2 separate regions of the Homo sapiens genome follow, and region 2 is linked to region 1. The links are contacts of gene promoters, found by promoter capture Hi-C in blood cells and fetal thymus (Javierre and others, 2016). All regions are on one chromosome and are shown on one strand. The core of a region is centred on a gene start or on the middle of the fragment in contact, and the rest is flanking DNA. Distances in the headings are between cores, read along the strand shown.

The links. Contacts are between HindIII fragments. The CHiCAGO score rates a contact against its expected background, and 5 or more counts as called.
Region 2: a fragment that was not itself captured here is called in contact with the fragment with the promoter of GINS1 in region 1 in 4 of 17 cell types (total B cells, erythroblasts, M1 macrophages and 1 more); the score reaches 8.0 in total B cells.

The regions. Positions count from the first base shown.
Region 1 is chr20:25,405,973-25,412,648 of GRCh38, reverse strand. GINS1 (GINS complex subunit 1) reads right to left here and starts at 4,976. Exons shown (of 7, transcript NM_021067.5): 1 at 4,754-4,976. The coding sequence starts at 4,828. LOC105372581 (a long non-coding RNA gene) reads left to right here and starts at 4,354. Exons shown (of 3, transcript XR_937403.3): 1 at 4,354-4,578. RefSeq lists enhancers at 3,830-4,587, 4,685-4,934. The HindIII fragment of the contact is 9,972 bases long and covers 4,364-6,676 here.
Region 2 is chr20:25,060,605-25,067,280 of GRCh38, reverse strand. It overlaps LOC124904882 (a long non-coding RNA gene), which reads left to right and starts at 684. Exons shown (of 2, transcript XR_007067555.1): 1 at 684-760; 2 at 3,911-4,319. The HindIII fragment of the contact is 264 bases long and covers 3,918-4,181 here.

The DNA of each region.
Region 1 (6,676 bases), core at 3,727-6,226:
GACGAACAAAGATATCAATCGTCCTACTGAAGCATGAGGTATAAAGAAAAATATGTAAATAATTCATAATTTACTAAAAAATGGTCTTTTTTTTTAGATGGAGTCTCACACTGTCGCCTGGGCTGGAGTGCAATGGTGCAATCTCGGCTCACTGCAACCTCTGCCTCCTGGGTTCAAGCAATTCTCCTGTCTCAGCCTCCCGAGTAGCTGGGATTACAGGCGCCCACCACCACGCCTGGCTAATTTTTTGTATTTTTAGTAGAGACGGGGTTTCACTATATTGGCCAGGCTGGTCTTGAACTCCTGACCTCGGGTGATCCACCCGCCTCAGCCTCCCAAAGTGCTGGGATTACAGGGATGAGCCACTGGGCCCAGCTTAAAAGTGATCTTAAAAGGTTAATACCAAAAGAAAGAAAAAGGAATAGTGTTTTTGGTTTGCACTGCAAAAACCGGCCATAGGAGTTTTTCTAGTATCCAGTTTCGGGCAAATTTTCCCTTGGAAAAATAAAACATTAGAATTCTGATTTTTTTCGTTGTTGTTGAGATGAAGTCTCACTCTGTGGCCCAGGTTGGAGTGCAGTAGTGCGATCTCAGCTCACTGCAACCTCTGCCTCCCAGGTTTAAGTGATTCTCTTGCCTCAGCCTCTCGAGTAGCTGGGACTACAGGTGTGCACCAGCAATGCCCAGCTAATTTTTTTTTTTTTTGAGACGGAGTTTTGTTCTTGTCACCCAGGCTGGAGTACAATGGTGCAATCTTGGCTCACTGCAACCTCCGTCTCCCGGGTCCAAGCAATGATTCTCCTGCCTTAGCCTCTCAAGTAGCTGGGATTACAGGTGCCCATCACGTCCAGCTAATTTTTGTATTTTTAGTAGAGACAGGGTTTCACCATGTTCACCAGGTTGGTCTCGAACTCCTGACCTCAGGCAATCCACCCACCTCAGCCTCCCAAAGTGCTAGGATTACAGGTGTAAGCCACCAAGTCTGGCTAATTTTTGTAATCTTTTTTTTTTTGGTAGAGACAGGGTTTCGCCATGTTGGCCACACTGCTCTCAAACTCCTGACCTCAAGTGATCCGCCTGCCATGGTCTCCCAAAGTGCTGCGAGTACAGGCAGGAGCCACCGTGTCCAGCCCAAAATGATTAAATGTTACCCAATAGGTCTGCCAACAATCGAAAGAGAAGCAATCCCATCTCTTTTTCACTGTCTATTTTTAGGGCCAAAATATATGTGTTGGCAAAAATGCTGTGGCATATACAAATGGCACAATTCCAAAATCAACTACTCAACTCTGCTCAAAAGATGTAATTCCTGATGGAAAATGCAAGCATGACTTCTACCTGAGCCCAAGGTAATTTTCTTACCTTTTCCTTTTTGAGACAGGGATTCAGTCTGTCACCCAGGCTGGAGTGTAATAGCGTGACCACAGTTCACTGCAGTTTCAACTTCCTGGAGCCATGCAATCCTCTCACTTCAGCCTCCTAAGTTGCTGGGACTACAGGTGTGTGCCACCACACCCAGCTAATTCTATTTTTTGTAAAAATGGGGTCTCACTATGTTGCCCAGGCTAGTCTCGAACTCCTGGGCTCAAGTGTTCCTTCCACCTTGACCTCCCAAAGTGGTGGCTGGGATTACAGGCATGAGCCACCATGCTTGGCCTAACTTTCTTAAAAATGTACTTTTTAAAAAAAGTATCAATTCTGCATATAGAAAGGGTGTAATCACTTTTCTGTTTGCTGAACACAGCGCTTAACCATGAGTGATTCCAGAAGAAAAGCCTGTGTGTTGGGCCGGGCACGGTGGCTCACGCCTATAATCCCAGCACTTTGGGAGGCTGAGGTGGGTGGATCGCCTGAGGTCAGGAGTTCGAGACCAGCCCGGCCAAAATAGTGAAACCCCATCTCTACTAAAAATACATAAAATTATCTGGGCATGGTGGCAGGCGCCTGTAATCCCAGCTACTAGGGAAGCTGAGGCAGGAGAATTGCTTAACCCAGAAGGCGGAGGTTGCAGTGAGCCGAGATCACACCATTGCACTCCAGCCTGGGCCACAGGAGCGAAACTCCCATCTCAAAACAATAAAAAAAAGAGAAAAGCCTGTGTGGTCCTTGGGCCTCTCAGATCCACTGTCAGCCTTCCTCTGTGCCGCTGAGTCGGAGGCCAGCCTCTGCAGGCTGACTAAGTGTTCCAGGCTGCTGGATCACCTTGAGTATCAGGTGGGTTTGTCAGTGGAAGGCACTAGTGAGACAAAAGGTGCTCCACCAAATTAAGACCTACAAGACAGTGATTCTACAACTTTTTTTTTTTTTTGAGGCGGAGTCTCTCTCTGTCGCCCAGGCTGTAGTGCAGTGACCCGATCTTGGCTCACTGCAACCTCCGCCTCCCAGATTCAAGCCATTCTCCTGCCTCAGCCTTCCGAGTAGCTGGGACTACAGGCACATCCCACCACGCCTGGCTAATTTTTTGTATTTTTAGTAGATACGGGGTTTCACCATGTTAGCCAGGATGGTCTCAATCTCAGGACCCTGTAATCCGCCCGCCTCAGCCTCCCAAAGTGGGGGGATTACAGGCGTGAGCCACCACTCCTGGCCTGATTCTACAACTTCTAAGACCAGCCCCTAGCCCCACAAAGTGATAACCCAACACTTAACTTAAAATTTGAGTAAAACAGAGAGCTAAACTAAGTGTCAGAGTCAGGTCCAAAATCCAGCTTGGCCGCACCTGTTTGCACAGTCTCTCTGTTCTCTAGGCCTGTGTCCTGATATGTACAATGACCTCTAAAGTTCCTAGTTCTCAGGCCACATTTTAGCATTTACACACTTCTGCATTCAAGCATCTCTACTGAGCTGCAGACTGCTGCCTAACTTTTTAAATGAGGTAACTGCTCTGAAGTTGAAAAAACAATTGACTAGAAACTGGAAAACCTGTGTTCAAGTTGAAGCTCTACCTCCAATATGCTGTAAATTCAGACGAGTTCCTTAACTTGACCCATAATTTGTGTCAGCTCAGTTTCTTCATTTGTAAGACAATCTAATTGTCTGGCTAGGTGCTCTTTAGTGTTCAAAACAAAACTCATTACCTTTCCCAACACACTCTATCTCCTGAACTCTGATGTTGTTTACCCAGTTTCCTAAGGATCCTCCAAGATCCCAATTCCTCCCTCTTATTCATTATGGACCCCATCTCTGCCCCTGCTCTAATAGCTACAAGTCATGTTTGCTTCATGTCTCTAAAACCCAAACACTGATCTCAGTGCCACTGACCTGACACAGTTCAGACCACACACCTCTCACCTGCTCTATCAGCCACCCAGTAGCCATCTCCCTGTCCCATTCTTTCCTCTCTTCAATCCATTCCCCATATTGCTGCCGCAGTTACCTTCAAAACACAAAAATTACCCTATCACTTCCTTGTCTAAAATCCTCTACCAGCTCCCAGCATGCCTTATAAGTGAACAACAAATTCATGTAGGCTGTGAGCCACCTTCCTAGACTCCCCACAGGCCCTATTGGTCACCCTCTCCAGTGTGACCACGTGACTTTGTGCTGCAGCATCCTTTGGCTGGGATGCCTCGCTTCCTTCTCAGATCAGTAACCTCATCCTTGAGGATGGAAAGGCTCATATATCACCTCTTCTACCCCAGCTCATACTGGTGTTTCTCCTTCGTGCTCCTTGCTATACCTCCTTAGTATCACTTAGCGTGGTGAATTCTATTATCTGTTTTTGTGCCCATCTTCCAGCAGAATGTGTCCTGACATCCACATAATGCCTGCTCTATGACGTAAGTGAAATATACAATTTAGAGTGCAGGCTCTGGAGCCAGAGTGCCAGGGTTCAAATCCTAGCTTTCTTGCTGTGTCACCTTAGGCAATATACTTAAATCTCCCCAATCCTATGCATATATAGCTGAAAAAAGTAGAAAACAATAGTTTAAACATCAAAAAGTTATTTTTGTTTTGTTTGGGACAGGGTCTCCCTGTCACTCAGGCTGGAATGCAGTGGCAGGATCAAGCGATCCTCCCGCCTCAGCCTCCCAAAGTGCTGGGATTACAGGCAGGAGCCATGGTACCGGGCCCTCAAAGGGTTATTAGAAAGACAAAAGATAATGTACATGAAGTGCTTAGCACTCTCCCTGGGGTAGCAGTGATAGAAAAATACAAATAATCATAATATTAATAGTAACAGCAGCAGCAGGAGAAAAGTAATATTAATAGCTAACACTGACTCAGCCCTTACTGTATGTGAGGCATATGCAGAGACCCTTACACATGCCACTCATTTTGCGTCCACTACATCATGCGTTGGGTACTATTATTGTCACCATCCCCATTTTTGCGTATGAGAAAACTGAGAGCACAGAAAGCTTGAGTAACTGCCCCAAAGTCACACTACAGAACCAGAATCTCAGCCAGGTTCCAGAGGCCTAGCTTTTACTGACCACGATTAGATGCCTGAGTGAGCAAGAAATGCTAAATTATCAGGCAACCTGTAAATATTTTAAGGGACCGGAACAAATCTGTCCAAGGAAAACTGCTAAAATGCAAAATTTGCTCAGATGAGGAAATTCACCAAATCGCTGGGTAGCGTAAGCATGAATGCTTTCTCTTTCCTCCTGAATTTTGTTTTGCTGCTTCCCAAGTTTTCCGGAGCTCGGAGGGAACAAGGTGCGAAAGTGAACCCTGACGGGGAGCCGCCCCGCCCCAGAGCCCAGGGCCCAACGCCGGCATGCCCCGTCCAAGTCTACCCGCCCCTCACGTTGAAGGCAGGCAGTTGCCCTTCGGGCGCGCGATGCAGCTCGCGGATCAGTTCCATGGCTTTTTCGCAGAACATGGCGGACGCTTCCCACTCCCGCGGCCTTGCCAACCACCAGCTCTCACGCCAAAATGGTATCTGGGCTCTCGGCGCCTCACTCCTTTCGTTCTAGTCCTACAGCGCCAGGCTCTCGCCTCGGCCTCCGCTCCGCGCTTTGGCGCCGAACAAAGCTAGCCAATAGGAACGCGCCTACGGCGCCCGAAAAGGGACATCCACCGCTCAGCCGCATTCCAAGAGGGGCGGAGTGGGAGGGGTCTTTCCAAGGTGAGGTCCCCGCCCCGGAGATGGCAGAACCCCTCGGCTGAGCAGAGACGGCTTTTCCAGTTCTCAGGCAGTGGGCCGGGGGACTCTACGGGCAGCAGAGCTGGAAATAAATGCACGCCCCGCAGCTTCCTTGTCATTTTCCTTTTGATTCATTCATTCTCGTTTAGGTTCAAGAAAAGAGCACTTTGAGGTTAAGAGGAAAGGCCCAAAAACTTGGTGTGCATTGGTAGGACGCAAGGGTTTCAGTTTTGCAGTGCGGGTTTTCTGTTTGATATTAAAATGAAACTCTCTTTTATTGGGTACCTAGTGCTGGTAGGGACTGCAGTGTGTATTTCATTCCCACAATTATCTCTGAAGTGTTTTAAGACCCGGGATTAATAAGGAAACAGAAGTTAGGTAACTTGCCCAAGGTCACACAGCTCCAGAGTGATTAGACTGTTATTTAGGCTTTCCATTTCCAACACCACAGTACCACCCTTTGATTTTAAAATAGTCTTTTAAAAATATTTGTAATATCTGCCCTAGATTAATACGAATTCACTAGGAATTTTCTTGGCTAGATGGTTATGGAATATTTCTTAAGCATATGGAAGATGGGAATCACTGCTAAAGAATTGTTTTATTAGGCAATTTTTCAAAAAGCAATGTTAATTTCTAACAAGCAATCTTGGATTTTTTTTTTTTTGAGATGGAGTCTCGCTCTGTCGCCCAGGCTGGAGTGCAGTGGCGCGAACTCGGCTCACTGTAAGCTCCGCCTCCCGGGTTCACGCCATTCTCCTGCCTCAGCCTCCCGAGTAGCTGGGACTACAGGCGCCCGCCACCACGCCCAGCTAATTTTTTGAATTTTTTAAGTATAGACGGGGTTTCACCGTGTTAGCCAGGACGGTCTCAATTTCCTGACCTCGTGATCCGCCCACCTCGGCCTCCCAAAGTGCTGGGATTACAGGCATGAGCCACCGCAACCGGCGCAATCTTGGATTAATTCTAGCTAACCCTAGAAACTATGTTGATCTTTTGCAAATATACAGTAGATATGTCATCTAAGGAATGGGCATGGGAATGGCCTACTCAGGCTTATGTTGAATAATGACATTGCCTTTTTTTTTTGGAGACAGGGTCTTAACTCCCGTTACCCAGGTGGAGTGCAGTGGCGCCATCTCAGCTCACTGCAGCCTCCACTTCCCGGGCTGAGGTAATTTTCCCCCCTCAGCCCTCTGAGTAGCTGGGACTACAGGCTCAGGCCACCACACCTGGCTATTTTGTATTTTAAGTAGAGACAGGGTTTCACCATGTTGGCCAGTCTGGTCGACAACTCTTGAGCTCAAGGGATCCGTCCGCCTGGGCCTCCCAAAGTGCTGGAATTACAGCGTGAGCCACCGCACCCAGCAAACATTGCCTTTTTGAAACCGCCTTTGAAAAAATTATAATAGAGAAAATTATTACAGTGAAAGAGATCTGACCTAACTGGCTCCATCTTGCTTCTAACCGCCAAGCCATCCTTGTTCATTCCTGGGCTTAGGGCGAATTAACTTGGGGAGAAACTTAGTTTATAGTTTAATTTTGAAACAAATACTTAGCCCTTTACCAAAGCGAAACCCTTTT
Region 2 (6,676 bases), core at 2,800-5,299, 340 kb after region 1:
TGTGTGGTGTGTGTGGTGTGTGCGTGTGTGTGGTGTGTGTGTGGTGTGGTGCCTATGTGTGGTGTGTGCATGTGCATGACGTGTGTGTGGTGTGTGTGTGTGGTGTGGGGGGGTGTGAGGGTGTGTTTGTGCTGTGTATGGTGTGTGTGTGTGGTGTGTGTGTGTGGTGTGTGTGTGTAGTGTATGTGTGTCTATCCCATGCCCCATGTCTTGCATCCTCTTTTCTAAATTTTCTTTCTTTTTTACTCTATGCTACAATTTCTATTTAATGGGAAAATTTAATTAATTCAGTTATTACTGATATGATGTATGGACATATCTCTTGATCTTATTTTATATTTCCCAACTTGCCATCCTTGCTTGTTCCTTCCCCACTCCACCCTTTCCTGTTTTGTTTTATTAAAATTGACCAACTTTTCTTCCATTTCTTTCACCAATGGTTTGGAAATCACATACTCTTTTTAGTTTTCTAATAATTATACATAAAATTTAAACATACCTAATAAACATGTTTCTATCACTATGTAGAGTTAGCCTGCATTTATATCATTCCTCCATCCAGACAAAAACTTTGGCTGGACAAAAATGGCTTTACTTTACTTCTACTTCTCCCTGGTCCCCAGCCAAAAAACCTGACGCTTTCCCCAGAGCACCTTCGCAGTGCTCCCAGCTGCCCTCTCAAGCCACTTCCCAGGTCTGGCTGCCATTGTCAGACGCCACTGGACCGGAAATCTACCAAAACGTCAATGCCTGCTTGCACGTAAGTCCAGGATAAAGTTAATTCTAGTTAAACTAATATGAAAAGAAAACCACAAGGGGTGTTCCTGACTATATCCCTCAGTTATAGTTTCTGCCTTGAATTCTAACCCATTTGCCTGCTACCTGCCAGGGGCTCCTCCTCAGAATTTCTCTTCCACCAAGGGATTTGTGTTTTCCCAATTTATCAGACTTTTAAAGGAATCTATCTGTCTATCTATCATCTATCTATCTATCTATCTATCTATCTATCTATCTATCTATCATCTATCTATCTATCATCTATACACTTCCTGTACCCAGTCCGTCTTGATGGAGTATGTATCTTTGCGAGGGCGAACAGATTTCTCATATCCTCATCCAGAATTCCCCGAGTTCAGGACTATCACACTGTCTTGGCCATAGTCAATCTGTGTTGATTAATTTACTAAGGAGACAAAGGTTATTCTGAGAGGGCTCATTATTAGGGAAATGCTCCTGGGCTTCCTTTGATGGCGATATGATCTTAAGGAATGCGTGAGTTCTTCTGGTTGGCTTGTCCTGTGGAAGATTTGACAGATTGCTTAGATAGGCTGGAAAGCAGCATCAGTTACAGAGCCAGGGGGCAGTGTTGGCCAGCTTTACAATTTCTCAACATTCAGCCCGGTAAGAAATTTGACTAATGCTATTAGTTCCTCATCAATAGATACACATCCTCTTGGGTCCTCGCTGGTGTTTTCAGGGCTGGGGCCATGTTTCATCTCTCTTTGGGACCCACAGAAACTGGTCTCTGGGAAAGCCATGTCCAGCCCTAGCGATCAGCACCTTTGCAGACTAATTCCTCCCCTGCCTGTGGTCTCTGCTCAAAGCTGTGACTGCATCATAAACCTTCACACCTGAGTTTGAGCTGAGAGGCTGGGAAGCCCAAGAAGTTCCTGAGGCGGTAGGCAGAGATGCGATGGCAGTTTTAGTGACCTTTGCCTTCTCAGGACAGAGCAAAGGGGCCGACAGCTCAGATCTAGCCAAAGGCTGTTCCCTGGTTTCCCTCTCCCCCTTGTAGCCTCTTATCATGGAGGGATCAAGAAACCAGGTGATTGCTGCAAAACAAGCAACCGAGCAATATCTGCGTGATGACTCAAGCAGTGCACCTGGCTCCAAGACCACTCAGGGGACAGGGTGGGCTACCAGCAGGCATCAGGACCCCTGGCCCTCCATGTGTGTGGGGACTGGTTCAGGCTTCTGCTGGACGATGAAACTACAGGACAAAGCCATGAGGGCAGGTGGCCCCTGGTCTTTCAGGCACAGTGGAAACCCTGCTGCTGCCGGTGCCTCTGCCTGGGTGTGGGAGTCTGTTTCTCTGAGCACAGTGTTGAACTTGGGACTATCCCTTTTGTCCTCTGGACTATAAGCCTCCTCCTCTAAGGTCCACATTCTAGTTGTCACTCAAATTCAAACTAAAGCAAACGCCGAGTTCTAGCTGAGGATCCATTTCCTAGCTTCACCTCTCAATTTTTAGTTTTATGCAAGTCAAAATCTAAACCTTCCCAGCCAGAGCTGGCTGCCATTCTCAGAAGCTACTGGACTGGAAATCTACCAAAATGTCAATGCCTGCTTGCACTTAAGTCCAAGATAAAGTTAATTCTAGTTGAACTAACATGAAAAGAAAACCACAAAGGGTGTTCCTGTCTATATCCCTCAGACATGGGCTTGGGTGGCTATGTCTCTGCTCCAGCCCTAAAGTAGTGTGAGAAACAGCGGTTGTCCCTGGCCCAGAGTGACGGCTGATGGGGATGGGGCAGTTGTGAGACAAAGAAGACATTGAACGGAAGGAAGGAGGGCAGGAGTTCTCCAGAGCCAGAGTCCGGTGGTCCTTAGGGAAATCTGTGGAGGGCCCCACACTGGCAGAGGCTGTGATTTTGGGAAAGGAGTAGAAACTCTGGCTATTAAGTCTGGCATGTTCTTAATGGGACTCATACACCTCTTGGAATTTTAGAGCTCAAGGATTCAGAATTTGGATCTCATTGGTTCATTTTGCAGATGAGAAAACTGAGGCCTAGAGATGTCAGGGGCCTTGCCACATGGCAGGTTGGAGGCAGAACAGAGGGCAGAAGCCAGGAGGGGTTCTAGGCCTCTCCCTTGGCTCCCTGTCTAGTGCTATCTGTACACTCAGGAGCTCCATGAAGGAGGAAGCCATTTTTGATCCACACAGGAGGCAGGACAGTGGCCACAGCTCAAAGTTCTCAGAGCTTTGCCCTTGGAGTGACCCCAAGATGTCCCTGTGATCTCAGAGACTTACAGCTCTCAAATAGCACTAAAAGTGACGCCTGGCCTTGAGCGAGAGAAGGCAGTGCAGCTACCACAGTAGGGGAACCCCAGGAGAGGCAGCTTGGGAATGGGGAAGGGCATTGGCATGTGGGGGCAATTGCTGTGCCCCCCTTGGCCCTGCAGGCCTGGCAGTTAGGGACTGTTCTCCCAGGTGTAATGATTTTCATGGTGTCTTCCTTGAACACTGAGGGCTGCAAGGGGTCTTGTGGGGAAGTCTGTTCTATGGGTGGTTGATGGATGATGTCCCCAGCCGTGCATGCTCATGGATGGCTGGGGTGAGTGATTAAGAGTTACCAGGATTTGGTGCTGCTGGAATTGAGTTACCATGTCGCTCATGCTGACCAGGAGCTGCCCCACCACAGAGCCCAACTGTTCTGCCTCCTGCACCGCCCTCAGAGCATCAGAGAGCATAGCTGCCTGGCCGGGTATCCCGCAGCCCCAGGAAGGACGCCAGGCAGTTGCTGGATTGCACTCCCACTTCCCAGCTCTTCTTGCGCTTGTGGCCACCCTCTCTCGTCCTGTGCTTCGCTGTGTGTTGTTGGGTTGACCCCGCAGGGTCAGGGGCGCACTGCACTTCTGCAGGGCTTTGTGCACAGTGCCACAGTGCATGAGGCTATGGTGTGTTGCAGCCATATGGGATCCTCAAGCCCCCTGCTGAAGCAGATGTATGCGCAGACTCCACATACCTCATCCTCACCCGGAGTTCATGGGGACATCGAGAAATAGGAGCCAGAAGGGAAGGGAGCCCTGTCACCTTGTGAAGCTGCCACCATGGCAGCCCTAGAGATATAGCTGAGAAAGCTCCTCATTTTTTCTTACTCAATTTTTTTTCTCATCTCTTTATCTATAGGTAAGCTTGCTTAAAAGAACTTTGGGTGGCCTGGTAACTTCAGGACGCTTCGCCAATTACCAGAGGAAGTAAGGCTTGCCCAAAACCGAGCAAACCAGAACCAGTGGCCCCTGTCACCTTTAGATCATTAGCATATCATTATAATGCTAAAGTCCCCACTCATAGAAGAGAATCATAGAAGAGAATCGTTGCCACTTTCTGCACACGTGTCGTATGAAGAGCCTGTTCATGATCTGCACCTGCGTGTCTGAAGTTCCTCCCCACATAAGCTTACATAGCTCCTGCCCCACATCTAACCCTGTTACATTCCCCAGCTCCCCACCGCTCTGGAAGAAGCTGTCTTTAGAGCAAGTGCTCTCTCCTTCTCCATGCCTGGCCGGGAATAAAACCTGCTTTTCCTTTTCCCCAATCTGGTGATCTTTCTTTGTAGCTGATGCAGAGTAGAGAAAGAACTCAGTGAACTGGTGACGAAGCCAATTCCAGACTCCCAGCATCTGGGTCCTGTACTTGATCTGAGCTCTGCCATGCTCTTCTAAATTCTGTGTTTTGGTTTTACTGTGCATTTCAGCTATTTGAACAGTGTCTGTCTCTCCCCAATTTGAACTGTGACCTGCTTGCTTGCAGGGACCAAAACTGGACCGTCCTTGTCCAACTGAGAGCCCTCAGCTCTTGGTGGTGCACATGGGAGAAGCTCACAGGTTTCTTCTGAGTGTCATTGGAAAGAGGTGTGTGTGTGTGGGGTCACAGAGACAAATGAAGAGAACAGGAAGAGGGAGAGATGGAGGAGAGAAGAGGAAGGGAGGGTTTTACCAGCTCTTTGGAGACCACTGAGTGCACAGGGAGTGGTTGGGGATCCGTTATCAGCCAGGACTGTTTCTTGAGCATCTGAGCACTGCGACTCTGGAGTAATGGGCATGGCAGGAGCTATGAAGGCAAATGGCGAAGGCCGTGTTGGTGGGCTCTGTCCCTAAAGCTGTTAAATTAAGATGCTCTGGACGCTATGGCTCTGCTACCTACTAGCTGGTGGCCTCGGGTGAGCTTCTGTCCTCCTGCTTATTTTCACACATGTACAGCAAGGGCAAGAGCATTCACTGCTGCAGGTTGTAGGGTCAGTAGTCACAGCTGTGTTGGCATTTCTGGCCTAAACATTAGTACCGAGACAGAAGCGAATCCCGGATTCCCAAGAACCCTGCCCTCTAAGCACTTCGTGTGTCTGCAGCCCCTGCCTGACAGCATCCAGCGTTCCAAGTGAGCTCTCCTGAAGTTGAGGCCAGCGGCTTCTTAGGGAGAAGATGTGACCAGCACTGCCCAGATAGCCTGCTGCCCTGTCCAAACCTCTGAGGGTCCTTCGGGATGCAGGGCCAAGAGTGGGTGCTCCTTGTGCTTGTTCAATCTTGTGCTTGTTCTGCAAGAGTTGATGACTGGCTGCCAGGAGGGAGGCAGTGGGGACGACCTTGGCCTGGGCTGTGACACTCAGAAGGAAGGTCTCAAGGCCACCTCTAGGTAACTCGGGCAGCAAGAAGTGCAGTTCTGCACCACCTGGTTGGTTCTGACATGTTTGGTTCTGAAATGATCACTTCTTCTTATCCAACCAGAAGGAACGAGGTAGCATTTATTTTAAAACAGAGTTAGTTCTACCTACTTTTCTCATTGCAACTGTAGAAGACCTTAGAAACGAAGGTAGTAGGAAGAAGGAGCCATTGCCGTGCACTCTCCATGGGGTGGCTGTTGGTGCCAGGCCCAGTCACAAGCAGCATAGCTGGTCTCTTCTCTCACAGGGCTCCCTCCTGGTAGGAGGACTAGGAAGATAAACACAGAGCTAATAAGTAACAGCCATGGAGAAAAGTCAAGTCAGGGGTTGAGACTAGGGAATGAGGGCGGAGGTATAACTTTATGTAGGTGACAGGGAAGAAAGGGCTCTTGGATGAAGGGATGTTTGAAGACACCTGAAGGAGGTGAGGGGGAGTCTCTGTGGACAACTGGGTGGAGCATTCCAGGCAGAAGGGACATCGTGTGGCAGTCCTGAGGTGGGAGCCTGCTGGGTGATGGGAAGGACAGGAGGAGGCTGATGTGCTGGAGCCCCAATGAGTGAGAGCAGAGGAAGAGGGTACACTGGATCAGGGAGGGCAACGCTTCTCTAACGTGAATGTGCATGCAGCTCCCCTGGGGCTTAAGATGCAGATTCTGAGGCAGCAGGTCTGAGATGGAGCCTGGCATTCTGCATTTCTACAAAGTATCCAAGTGATGCTGCTGGCCCATGGACCACACGTTAAGTAGTGAGGCTATGGCCTGTGGGCCAGGGAATGATGTGGTCTTTGTTTTGAGGAGACTGGGGAGCCTTTGGATTGTTCCAAGCTCCAGAGCAAGTTCCTCTGACTCTTGTTTTAAAGGAATTGCACTGGCTGCTGGTTAGGCTGTCAGGGGCAAGGGTGAAAGCAATTTGAAGCCTACTGAATAATCCTAAAAGAGATAGGTATGGTTAGGATGGTAGCAGGAGGGGATGGTGATGGGGGAAGAGGTTAGTGCTGCAGGTGTTCTGAAGGTGAGTCACAGGATTTGCTGACAGGCTGCATGTGGAGTGTGAGGGGGAGGAATCTAGGATGACAAGGGTATGAGCCCAAACAACAGGAAAATGCCATTTCCATTCACTGACATGGAAGATCCGTGTTGTGGGGAAGAATCCCAGGACTTGGTATGTTTCAGATGTGAATGAGACATTTGAATACAGGACTGAGATGTGGAGGAAAGGTCCAGGCGGGAGGTGTC